3 separate regions of the Homo sapiens genome follow, and regions 1 and 2 are each linked to region 3. The links are contacts of gene promoters, found by promoter capture Hi-C in blood cells and fetal thymus (Javierre and others, 2016). All regions are on one chromosome and are shown on one strand. The core of a region is centred on a gene start or on the middle of the fragment in contact, and the rest is flanking DNA. Distances in the headings are between cores, read along the strand shown. Region 1 has its middle 43 kb from the start of LINC01804. Region 2 overlaps MYCNUT (MYCN upstream transcript). Region 3 holds the start of CYRIA (CYFIP related Rac1 interactor A).

What was found. Contacts are between HindIII fragments. The CHiCAGO score rates a contact against its expected background, and 5 or more counts as called.
Region 1: a fragment that was not itself captured here is called in contact with the fragment with the promoter of CYRIA in region 3 in 1 of 17 cell types (endothelial precursors); the score reaches 5.8 in endothelial precursors.
Region 2: a contact is called between a fragment that was not itself captured here and the fragment with the promoter of CYRIA in region 3, in 2 of 17 cell types (fetal thymus and naive CD8 T cells). The highest score is 5.3, in fetal thymus.

The regions. Positions count from the first base shown.
Region 1 is chr2:15,731,841-15,735,860 of GRCh38, reverse strand. No RefSeq gene overlaps it. Among named protein-coding and RNA genes, the nearest start is that of LINC01804, 43 kb to the right of the region's middle. RefSeq lists a silencer at 3,515-3,574. The HindIII fragment of the contact is 1,373 bases long and covers 1,551-2,923 here.
Region 2 is chr2:15,928,915-15,932,880 of GRCh38, reverse strand. All of the region lies in intron 2 of MYCNUT (MYCN upstream transcript), which reads right to left. Among named protein-coding and RNA genes, the nearest start is that of MYCN, 9.7 kb to the left of the region's middle. The HindIII fragment of the contact is 667 bases long and covers 1,429-2,095 here.
Region 3 is chr2:16,663,350-16,667,625 of GRCh38, reverse strand. It overlaps CYRIA (CYFIP related Rac1 interactor A), which reads left to right and starts at 1,792. Exons shown (of 12, transcript NM_030797.4): 1 at 1,792-1,846. RefSeq lists silencers at 1,586-1,755, 1,826-1,875. The HindIII fragment of the contact is 7,241 bases long and covers 773-4,276 here.

The sequences.
Region 1 (4,020 bases), core at 988-3,487, 930 kb after region 3:
TGTGCAAAGATGCAGAAGCATTAAAAGAGCACAGCATGTTTGAATAACAGGGAGATACTGTTATTCAAATAACAAGGAGATACAAGAATAACTAAATAGCTCAATTCATTCTGGCTGAGACAGAGAGCATGGAGAATGAAGAAGGACACGAGGTATTCCAGGGCTTTTGGGGAACAAATGATCAGGGGCCATGTACTCCACACTAAGGACTTTGAACTTGACCCTGAGGGTAGTGAGGCACCATCAAAAGGTGTGAGGCAGGAGTGTGACATGGTCAGATTTGTTTTCAGAAAGGTCACCTGGCAGCCAGCATGGACACTGGAGCCAAGGGGACGCACTCAGGGATAGAAGGAGGCTGAAGGAGGATATTTCAATGATTAGAACCAAGGGAATGTAGTGGCATCTGGGATGGAGAAAAGGGGCCTGATGAAAGCCATATCTCAAGCCACAGCTCTCTTGCCATTTGCTGTACACGAAAGTTTCAGCTACAGCTCCTTGGGGAAAATAACTAGCAACCGCAGGATGCTACTGGGTTAACATCAACCACCTGTTTGGAGTCACATGCTCTTCTTTGATGAAGGCTATTAGTGAAAGTGTATTTGGAATCCCAAAAGGCTATTTGAATTTCACACCTTGCACTTCCTTGCAGGATTTAGGCTCCTCCAAGAAAATTGTGAAGCAACACATATAATCAAGCCACAAGTTCTCAGACTACAAATAGTCTTTCCCAGCTGCCCTGAACACATTTGCTGCTCATTTGCTCCTGCAGAGACTACCCAGGGTGCTATATTAAGAATGCTAGATAAGAATGCCTGCTCACTACTTGGAGTGGTGGAGGGAGCAGAGGTGTCAAGCCTGGTCTCCAGTCGCCTTCCTTTCTGCTCTCACGCACTGCAGAGCCTCAGGCATGTAGAATACTTACATCCCCTGATCCCCAGTCTTCAATTTTGAAAAACGGGGGCTAATAATGCCTGGTCTGTAGAGTTGTGTAGTCATGTCTAGCCCAGGGTCTGACACATGGCAAATGCTCAGTAATGCTTGTGGCACTGTGACAATGAGCTTTCTGAGCCAGAAAGGGGCTCTCTGAGCTGATGGGGAATGATCAGAGAGTAACTAGACTGCTCCTCAGGGATGATAAACATGTAAAAGCCACCAGCAACTTCTTTCCCAGCCATGTGCAAGAAGCCCAGCTTCTTGCTGGTCAGAGGTTTCTTCACCAAGGGCTCAGACTGGAAACAGGCTAAGGTCATGCTTGGGACCTGGACGGAGTTGTCGCCTCCTGCTTGTGGGGAGAAGCTGCGATCCAACACCCAGCCATTGCTGTAGAGTAATTTCCCTCCACCTTCTGGGAAATGAAAAAGCAGCCAGATGCATGCTTTAAAAATAAACCATGCAAGAGAAAGAAGAATATCATGTGTTTGCTTCCCAAGCTGGTTTGAAATATTTGAAACGCAGAGAGACTCAAATCTGTCAGGAATCAGCAGAGCTCTGAGGTTTGTTTCAACATTTGGAGTGAGAAACAAAGGGATTAGAATCTGTTCTTTAAAGCTTCTATGCAGCATTTGGGATTGCCATAACAATAGGCATGTTTTGCCCTCAAAAGAGAAAGTCAGACCACGCTCCATGTACAATAACAGGATCGCTAATTTGGACCCCGCCAGCAAAATATTTGAAATCACTCAGACAAGGCTCTTCAATCATTTACTTCACAATGATTATGAAGACAGGGTTTGTTCTGTGGCCAAGTGAAAAGAGGTTTTTTAAAACACATATAGCTGCGTGGTTTATATCAACCAATCTGGTGCCAGACGGCCTGAGTCTGGGCCCCGGCTCCCCCACTCATAACTATGTGACCTTGGACAAGTGACTTAACCCCATCGGACCTCTGCAAGCCTCTCTGAAGATTAAATAAGCAAATATTTGCAGAGCATGAAGTCTGACTCATAGTAAGTGCTATGAAAGTGTTTGTAAAATAATAAATTATGTTAAAATGAAGGGTGGAGAATCTTCAGCATGTTTGATGTTTTTTCTTGCTTTAACTGGACTCCTTCCATTTCGGTCTTATCAAATCATTACGATAGATGCCTAAAGAATCTCTCAAGTCTAAGAAGAAGGTGTTATGAATTAAGTCTATAGCTCAAACTTTTTTCCTCCCTGTCTTCCCTGTTGATAAAATTTGGGGAGGGAATCTCTAATTTTTAAAATGTAGGTTTTTCAGAGTCCAGACATAAAGGTTCCAATCGAGCAAGTTTTATCATCAGACAAGTTTGGGAACCACTAACTCAAATGGAATTCCTTCCCAGTTAGTAGGAATAATTGGGTTTGGTTGTCTCTGCTTTTTTCAGTGCCAGGATTTCGTTTCTCTTTCTCTCATCCAAGCGTCCAATACGAAAAGAAATTGGACTTTTATGCCCCAAAACTTCCCCTAGGGATGCAAGGCAGGAGGCCCAGGAGAGGTTAGATCATAGAGCTTTTATTTCAAACGGGAGCTCCATTCAAATAAAACCGCACACCGGCCGGGCGCGGTGGCTCATGCCTGTAATCCCAGCATTTTGGGAGGCCAAGGCGGGCAGATCACAAGGTCAGGAGCTTGAGACCACCCTGGCTAATATGGTGAAACCCCATCTCTACTAAAAACACAAAAAAATTAGCCGGGCGTGGTGGCACATGCCTGTAGTCCCAGCTACTCGGGAGGCTGAGGCAGGAGAATTGCTTGAACCCAGGAGGCGGAGGTTGCGGTGAGCCAAGATCGCACTCCAGCCTGGATGACTGAGCCAGACGCCATCTCAAAAACAATAACAACAACAAAAACCTCACACCATTGCAGCTGCACCTAAGTGAGGCTTCAAGTCAGCCCAAGTAGTTATATCAGAAGGAATGGGGGAAAGATGTTGATAAGCTCAGGTAAGATGCCTCAGAAGCTTTTGAGTTTTTAATTTTTTTAAATCTAAGACATTCCTTAAAGGAAGATGCATATTTGGGTCATAGTGGGTTGGAAAAGATGAAGAAAGATCTTTTGGATTTTGAAGCCCTGGCTTGTACCAGGGAGAGGGAGAGGCCAGCCTCAAGAGATACACTGGGCTCGTTTGGAGACACAGGGCCCGGCCCCACCCCATCTCTAGAACCCTCACCATGATAAGTTCCCATCTGTAAAGTGGAGGTGATGATAATGCCAGTCTCACTATGATTCAACACCAGTGGGGGCTGCAGATGCTGGAAGTTTCAAATCGTATTGGGAATGACATCACACAGATGGCTCCTGGAACCAGGCCACGTGGATAAGCCGCCCAAATGGACAGGCAGTAGTGATCTTCCTCTGGCATAATGAGAAAGGGGCTCAGTGATGGGAAGGTAATTTAGTCCCTGGACCAGCTGAGCTGGGCTGGTAGAAACCTTCCTTCCTCTTTGGAAACTGGAAGTGAGAGGCAGGCAGCTGGTAGGTCTCCCAAGAGGCGTGAAACCTAGTAGAGTGGGTTATTTATGCAAATTACAGAGAAACCCCATGTTATAAGATTACGTCTCCTGAGCTGTTTCTTTTCTGTCCTTGTTGGAGAAGCTGAGATGGACTCAATTCAGTTTCTTCATTCATTCATCCATCCATTCATTCCCTCTCCAACACAATACCTGCTATGTAACAGATATTGTGCAGGGAAACAGAAATAAATCTGACCCTAATTCTGGATCTCCAGAGATCTAATGGAGGGAACCCAGCTTAAGCTTAAACCTGTGATTCAGGACAATAAAGTGAAAGGTGTCTGTTGGTGGAGGGCCTTACAGTACTCCGGGGGCTGCAGGGAAAGAGACAGGGAAGGTTGTCTGAAGCAAGGGGCAACTAAACTAGGTTGATAAACAGGGAAAAGCAGAGGAAGGAGGTTCCAGTCTGAGAAAATACATTGATCAAAGGCAAAGGGCTGTGAGGGTCAGGGGTCAGAATACAAAGCTCTAGTGCTGGAGGGGAGTGCCTAGAATTTAGGGAGCACCTGCTAAGGGGAAGCCCAAACACTTCCCAGAACTCCACCT
Region 2 (3,966 bases), core at 513-3,012, 730 kb after region 3:
TTTTTGAGAGAATCTCACTCTGTTGCCCAGGCTGGAGTGCAGTGGCACCATCTCGGCTCACTGCAACCCCCGCCTACCGGGTTCAAGCGATTCTTGTGCCTTAGCATCGTAAGTAGCTGGGATTACAGGCTCGAGCCACCGTGCCCAGCTAATTTTTTTTTTTGTATTTTTAGTAGAAAAGGGGCTTCACCATGTTGGCTTGGCTGGTCTCAAACTCCTGGCCTCAAGTGATCCATCCGCCTCGGCCTCCCAAAGTGCTGAGATGACAGGCATGAGCCACCACACCCGGCCATTTTTTCATCTTTCTTTTAGTATCATGTGAGGATTACACAAAGTAGCCATCTGGCTTATAATGGATGTCCAGTAAACGTTCCCTCCCTTCCTTCTAGTCCCAGCCCTCCTGCAGGGGCTCCATGTACCCCGCAGCAATAGACCATAGCATGTGTGTCCTGGGGGAGCCTGCAGAAAATGTCTCTTTGTTTTAATGGGACTGTTGAATCATTCTTTCTTCAACTGGAAATCTCTCTGGGCCACACCCCTTTACTCTTCATGGCTTGTCCGTAATCAAGTAACTTTAGGCTTGAAAGAAGGTACTGCAGAGTCAAGGTAGTATAAGGTAGTCCTAGTAAGAACACAGGGTCACCCGGGGAGAGGACTGGAGTTCTTCAAGCTTAGAATTGTGTCTTACTTCTTGAGGAATTTTAGATCGGTCCATTAACTTCTCCTGGTTCATAATATCGGAATAATGAGCCCTATCCCTGCTTTTATTCCATAAGGGAAAGATATCTGTAGGGCAGTGGGCTTAGATTCAGAAATGAAGTTTGATAACCTGGTTCTATTATTTCTATATGATCTTGGGCATGTCCATTTCCAACAGCCTCAGTTTTCTTACCTACGAATAGGGATAATAATATTCTTACTGCCACAGAGAAGATAGGAAATCTACAATCAAAGTGGGGCCATGTATGTTACCTTGCTGTATATTATAAGCTCTAAGAAATTGTAGAGGAAAAAGGCTTTATTCTGTGGGGCAGGAGCTTGAAAAATGGTAAAACCTCTACACATGAACAGTGTGGGATCATGTATGGAGTTCCTAAAACAAGGCTGTTTGGGATGGACACGTTTGAATCCTCTTACAATGCTTATAATGGTCATATTTCCTGGTAAGTGGCATCAAATCCAAAAACCTGTCAAAGGGACAGATGGCATTCTTAGCACAAAAGAGGAAACCAATTAGAAGTTAAAATACAGAAAAATGTGAACTTGTAAATGCTAACAAATTGTTTCAATGTGGAGGACTGTGTTGTTTTCCCTGACACTGGCCAAGGAAGGTCTCTTTCTGGTCCAGCTATGTTCACAGGGCACTGACTATTGGAGTCTGAAAGAAACCTTATGGACTCTCTCTCCTAACTGTCTTGATTTCAAGCTTGCATACCTAGCTCGAGTTGTTGGGCAGATGCTGCTGATTGCACCATGTCACTTTTACAGTGACAGACTGTGTCTTTGCAGCTCAGAAATGAGCTCTGAACAGTAGGCTTTAGGAAGCAATTTCTAAATACAAGCATTCATTTAGTCCATCAACAAACACTTGTATATGACTATATATAACTATAACTTCTGCTTGCAAGGCACTTATAAGCCACACAGAAAAATCCAATGAAACTTATTGTGTGCTACAATTAAGGATGGCCCAGAGGAAAGAGACTCCACCCCTCCCTGGGGGAGTGGAACATGGTTTCACAGACTGGGAGGGACATTTGAGCTACAGGATGAGAAACAGTTTGCCCGGGACACAAGGGCGGATAGGATTGTATTAGTCAGGATGGGTGAGAGTATGCTGTAGTAACAAACAACCCTCAAATCACAGCGGCTTAATGCAACAAAGCCTTAGTTTTTGCTCTTGTTACACGTTACAGCCTTCTTGTTAAAAGAGCAGCCCCTCGTGAAAGAGGGAAAACAGCCAGAAGGAACAAACCAAATCAAGCATGCAGCTGTTACACTCTATGCTAAAACCCCCCAATGGATCAAGGTGGCCCCAGTTGGATAGAATGGTTTGTTTGGAGGGAAAAGACCAAGAGCATGGGGTAAGAAAGCTTCATAAACTGGAGGTGCTGAAAGTAAGTCTAGAGAAAAAAGCAGGGTCTTATTTTTGTTATTTGTTAAATAACCTTTTAAATACTAAGTCTTAATAGTGCAAATTTAATGGATTTTTATTATAATTATGATTTAGAGCAAACTGTTGAAGATATTCCTTTTTTTTTTTTTTTTTTTGAGATGGAGTCTTTCTCTGTCACCCAGGCTGGAGTGCAGTGGCACAATCTTGGCTCACGGCAACCTCCATCTCCCCTGTTCAAGTGATTCTTGTGCCTCAGCCTCCTGAGTAGCTGGGATTACAGGCATGCACCACCACACCCAGCTAATTTTTTTTTTTTTTTTGTATTTTTAGTAAATATGGCATTTCACTAGGCTGGCCAGGCTAGTCTCACACTCCTGACCTTAAATGATCCTCTGGTCTGGGCCTCCCAAAGTGCTGGGATTACAGGTGTGAGCCACTGCTCCCAGCCTGTTGAAGATATTCTAATTAATCCTAAATTAGTCCTGCAAGTTGTTTCATGAAAAAAGTTTTCTATATTAAAATACACATAGGTTTAAATAAAAAACGAGAGAGAGAAGTCTTGAAGAGAATGGTGTCTGTAGCTACAGCTGATCGGAATGAAGTCGTTCAAGGATAGAAGCTTAGACTTCACTTCGAAATGCTTCCTCTGAACTGGCTGCCATGGAGTCACCTGTGCCCCCAAGCACAATCTCCTCAAAGGCAATGGCAGCCATTACTAGGCCTTTTTATTTTTCATGATGCATAGTTGTACCTGTCACAAAGGAGGTGCTCAAAAAATATTTTGTGGAATGAATGGACAGATTTCTCTCTGTTCTCCCAAAACAAGGCTTATGTCTCTATGTACATAAGGAGAATGTCAGGGCTGGGTGCCGTGGCTCATGCCTGTAATCCCAGCACTTTGGGAGGCTGAGACAAGTGGATCACTTGAGGTCAGGAGTTCGAGACCAGCCTAACAAACGTGGTGAAACCCCATCTCTACTAAAAATACAAAAACTAGTGGGGCTTGGTGGTGGGTGCCTGTAATCTCAGCTACTATTTTATATATATATATATATATATATATATATATAAAGAGAATGTCAGGACCAGCAATCCATAGAAAACTGAGACAGCAGACTTGTAGTTTTCAAACTTGCTTGCAGCTACAAAACTTTTTATTTAAAAAATGCTAACTAAATATCTTTTACACTAAGGTCAATTTTTTATTTTTTTAAAATTTTTTTGAGACGGAGTCTTGTTCTGTTGCCCAGGCTATAGTGCAAGTGGCACCATCTCAGCTCACTGCAACCTCCGCCTCCTAGGTTCAAGCGATTCTTCTGCCTCAGCCTCCCGAGTAGCTGGGATTACAAGCACCTGCCACCATGCCCGGCTAATTTTGTATTTTTAGTAGAGATGGGATTTCACCATGTTGGCCAGGCTGATCTTGAACTCCTAACCTCAAGTGATCCATCTGCCTCGGCCTCCCAAAGTGCTGGGATTACAGATGTGAGCCACTGCGCCCAGCCTCTCTGGGGATCTTGAAGGGTTTCAAAACCAGACTGAAAGCCACACATTCAGATCAATCAGATCACACAAACAATAAAACCCCAGCACTTTCTCATGAAACCAGGAGAAAGTTCTGGCTTTTGTCTCTTCCACCTGTGGAAATCAGCAGTTATCTCTATTTTCCTTTGGGGATTGGAGTGTTTGGTTTCTCCATGAAGGAATGAAATGTTCACAAGAGCAAGAATATGCAGCTCTCCTGAGAAGAGGGCTGGAAGAAGCCACCAGCTCCAGTATCCTCAAAAGAGCACCTCTGCAGCTCCAGGGTCCGGGGTTCCTCCAGAAGCACAGATGAACTAAGCGGGGCT
Region 3 (4,276 bases), core at 543-3,042:
AAGTCCTCTCATGGTCTGAAATGATAGTGTTTTATGGGGATGAATGGTGTTTGTGGCTGATTAGTCCTCACTCTTCCCAAAACCTGGCCAAACTCAAGGTGGACAGATTAAGCCAGAAAATTTTAGGGGTGTGTGTATGTGTGTGTGTGTGTGTGTGTGTGTGTGTGTGTGTGTGTAGTAGACATGGTTTACCTCATGGCAAGAAGGCTTTTCTCATAGAGCCACTCACAGATAAAACACCTTTGCCAGACGGCTGCGGTGGTTCACGCTTGTAATCCCAGCACTTTGGGAGGCCAAAGTGGGTGGATCACGAGGTCAAGAGTTCAAGACTAGCCTGACCAAGATGGTGAAACCCCGTCTCTACTAAAAATACAAAAATTAGCCGGATGTGGTGGCAGGCGCCTGTAGTCCCAGCTACTCTGGAGGCTGAGGCAGGAGAATTGCTTGAACCCCGGGGGATGGAGGTTGCAGTGAGCCGAGATCACACCACTCCACTCCAGCCTGAGCTACAGAGTGAGACTCTGTCTCAAAAAACAAAAACAAAAAAAACACCTTTGCAGGAATTGACAACAGAGGCTGGTCTAGGGCATGGGGAAAACTCAAAAAGAGAACGGGAAAGTGTTTCTTCTGGTCCTAAGGACCCCTTCCAAGTGGGAAAATATTTCACTCTAACTAGACAGTGCCTTCCTGCCCTCTGTGAATTTTTGCCAAAAAACAGACCAAGAGCCTCTGTGGGCAGTTCAGGAGAGCCTTTCAGAGTGCAAAGGAAGCTTGGGCAACAAGTCCTCCCAGGGGAAACACCCTGGATCTCAGAAAGGAGAGGGGCCTGAACACCTTCTCCTGATGCTTCCCGCCTCCTCTGATCCCAGCCCACACAGGGCCCCAACCCATGCAGCTTCGGGCACGTACCTTGGCACACTATGGGGATTTAACACATGTTTCATGATGTTCTGGCTGATGGACTGGGAAAGGAAGCACCCGAAGCCGGGGTCCCCAGGAGCTCTCCCTCCCCTCAACAGGAGCTCTGACTCACAACCTGTTTGGCACTGCTGAGTCCTCTCCGGTTTCCTGAATCTCCCTCTCTCTAATGCAAAAAGCCTCCATGGCAGATGTTTTAGAACAATGATCACGTCAATGACGCTGTAACCCACTACTTTCTTTTTGCATCATAGAATTTTTTAAGTGTTTTTGCAGACTTACTCTTTAAGGTTAATTACATGTTTTGGATTGAGCCTTTGGGAAGACTTTACAGTGGTCCTATCGGATAACTGCGGGCCCCAAGGCTGGAGATCTGTTAATAGGGTGGGCAGAAAGGGACTGGGAGCGAGACTGGGTTCAGAATCTCAAGTAATTTGGAGTGTGCCTAGGGATTGGGATGATTTGGCTGGGCATTAATTTGAAGGTGAATATGCGTCTAGAGATTGCGGGGATTTCTTTTTCTTGGAGGGCAACCGTGGGTGTGGAGGAATTTGGTGTGCAGAAACAGAAAGGTCTGGTTCGGGCTTCCTCTGGGAAGGCAAGGCCAAGTGGCCAAGGCTGAGAAGGGGCAGGGGCGACCGTGCTGGGGCGGGTCCGCACCAGCTCCTGGGAGCAGAGAGCAGAGCCGGGCAAAGAGATGGGGTTGTCCAGGCTAGGGTGAGGACGCGGCCGGTGACAGCGCGGGTGGGGATCCCCCGGGGCCGGGGCGGGGCGGCTGCCGCGAGCCGGGCTGGGGGCGGGGCGGGGCGGGGAGGGACGGGGAGGGGCGGGGCGGGGCTCCGAGGCCGTCTCGCAGGCTGCGGCGGCCGCGGGAGAGGCGTACTCGGCGGCGGCGGAGCGGGCGGCAGAGCAGGGCGGCGGCGACTCGGTGAGCGCGGCGCGGCTGGGGGCGCGGCAGGGGCGCGGGCGGGGGTCTGCGGGCGCGGGGCTCGGCCTGCACGGGGCACCGCGGGGCACCGCGAGGCGGGGCGGGCGCCTCCCTGCCATCCTTCTCCTCCCGGACGCCCCTGCAGCCTTTGGGAGGGAGGGAGAGCGGAGGACACCGTCCGGGAGCCCTTCTCTAGCGATCGCCGGACAGAGGTCCGGCTTTGTGCCCCGTTGCCCTCTTTCTGAGAGGGCTGCCTCCTGATTGTGTTCCTTTCCCAGACCACCCTCCCTCGTCCCTCACTCACTTACCCCCCACCCCAGGTATCATAAGCTCCATTCTTGCAGGGGACCCCTAACACTCCCCTTCCCACCACCCGAGGCCCCGGGGTCCTGGGTACTCTCTACAGCCCCAAAGGGAGGGATGGCCCCCTCCCCAGCCCCTGCACACCTGGACCCTTCTGTTGCCACCTGCCACAGACGTTCTTAGCCAGCCAGAAAGCTGCTGTGCCTAGGACCCAGCACACCTTGCCGTCACCCTCTCTCCTCCCCCAGAACCCAGAACCCCAGTTTGGCAAAAGGCACTTTTCCAATACTGAGCTTTGGGAACAATTTGACCCACTTCCCAAAATGCTGGTCCCAGGCCAGCCATGCTTTTTGGTGGAGACACCTGTCTTGTCTGCCAGGAGACATTCTCTGTCAAAATGGGCCAGCCCGTCCCTGGGTCCTCCTCCAAGCTGCTCCTACTCGCTAGCCAGTGTCCCCAGAGACCAGGGCCAAGATCTTTGTCATTTAAGGCCTCCAAAGCTATTTCCCCACGCATCCCCAGAATTCCCCCAGCCACTGTTTTGGGGGTGCCAGGTCCAGAACTGATGGAGCAATCTTTCTGTGTCCAGGGCCTGATGTCCTCTCCCACACCCTTGTTTACCCGCCTGCTCCCCAGGGAACCCAAGACAGGGTCATGGGGCTGGAGTTTAGGGCCCTGATCTCCCCTGAAGCTCTGTGACCCTCCTTTTCTCCCTGTTAGAAACTTTCCTCTCTGTCACCAGTCACTATCTCCTCTGGATGGGACCTGGGCCATCTGCACAGTGTCGAGTCCCCAGGGCACAGAATGCTGATCTGGGACCCTGGAAGGCTGGGACTTGTGCTGGGGCAGCAGGAGGAGAGTGGCTGCTAGCCAGGTCTGGGCTTGGGTACCAGAGTTCTTTGGGTGGATCATTGTCGGCTTTCACTGATCTCTGGTTGGGGTTCGAGGGCTTGCTTTGCAGTGGAGACAGGAGGCAGAGCAGGGGCTGTTTTTCCTGCGTGCTTCTGACTGTCTTGTGTTGCTATGGTGACAGTTTTGCCTGTCTTCCTCCTTCTGACTCTTCTGGGAGCTGGTTTTTATTGGTCCGTTGTCCTGTCTTTCATGGCTCTAATTTCTCCTTTCTACTTGCTCTGAAATAAACAGTCATAAACATGGGCGCTGGGCCCAGGCTGGGGGCTGGCAGAACTTCACCTCCTGCTGGCCCTGGGTTCCTGTGAGGGGAGAGTGGGAAAGCGAGGTGGAAACAGACCTGCCCACATTCCCTCCTGCCTCTGGGCTCTGGCTCTGGGAAGGGGGCAGCAGCAGCATCACGGGCTTGGGCACATAGTGGGCGCATACTGCCTCAGTGCTAAAAATAGATACCAAATGTGGCAAAGGACCTCACTGGTGTTATTTCCTTTCATCTTCACAATAGCCCCATGGGGCAGGGGCTCTTTCCACTTTGCAGATGAGGAAACTAAGCTCAGAGCAAGTGAGTTATTTCCCTAAGGTCACATTGATTTGAGCACACAGTCAGCCCTCAGTTTTGGTTCAATGAATGGAAAAGTGATGAAGCTGACATACACGCATCTCTGTTGGGCTCCCTGGTCCTGTCCGAGGGATCACAGGGACTTCCTTAGTCCAGCTGCCTAAACCCACACTATAGGAGGCTCTTTAGAAGGTGTCTCCACTTTTCCTGTCCCTGCTGGACTACTGTGGAGGGAGCTGCCAGGAAGCTGTCTGGAGTGTCCCAAGTGTACCCTTGACCTGAACTGTTGAGGACCCCAGCTGAGAGCAGAGCAAAGCCACTTGTGACTTCCTGTTTTTACTCAGCACCAAGAAGAATTCAGTTTGCATTTGCTCCCAGGCCTAGATGCAACTAGATAAGTCAGGGACCCAGAGTCAAGTAGACCCTCCCAAGCCAGCCCTGGGCAAGGAGTTCATAGCTCCCCAGGGCCATAGGGGCACCCACTGTCAGCTGTCAGTGACCCTCTCCAGTGAGGCTGTTCCTTCCCTTCCCTGGTGTTTTTTTCTTCAGTACACGCTCTTCTTTTCCATTCCCTGCCAGTCCCTTCACATTGCCATGCTCTAGGTTTGTTAAAAATAAGCTGAGCACGTATTATGGTAGCACAAAAAGACCAGAGAATC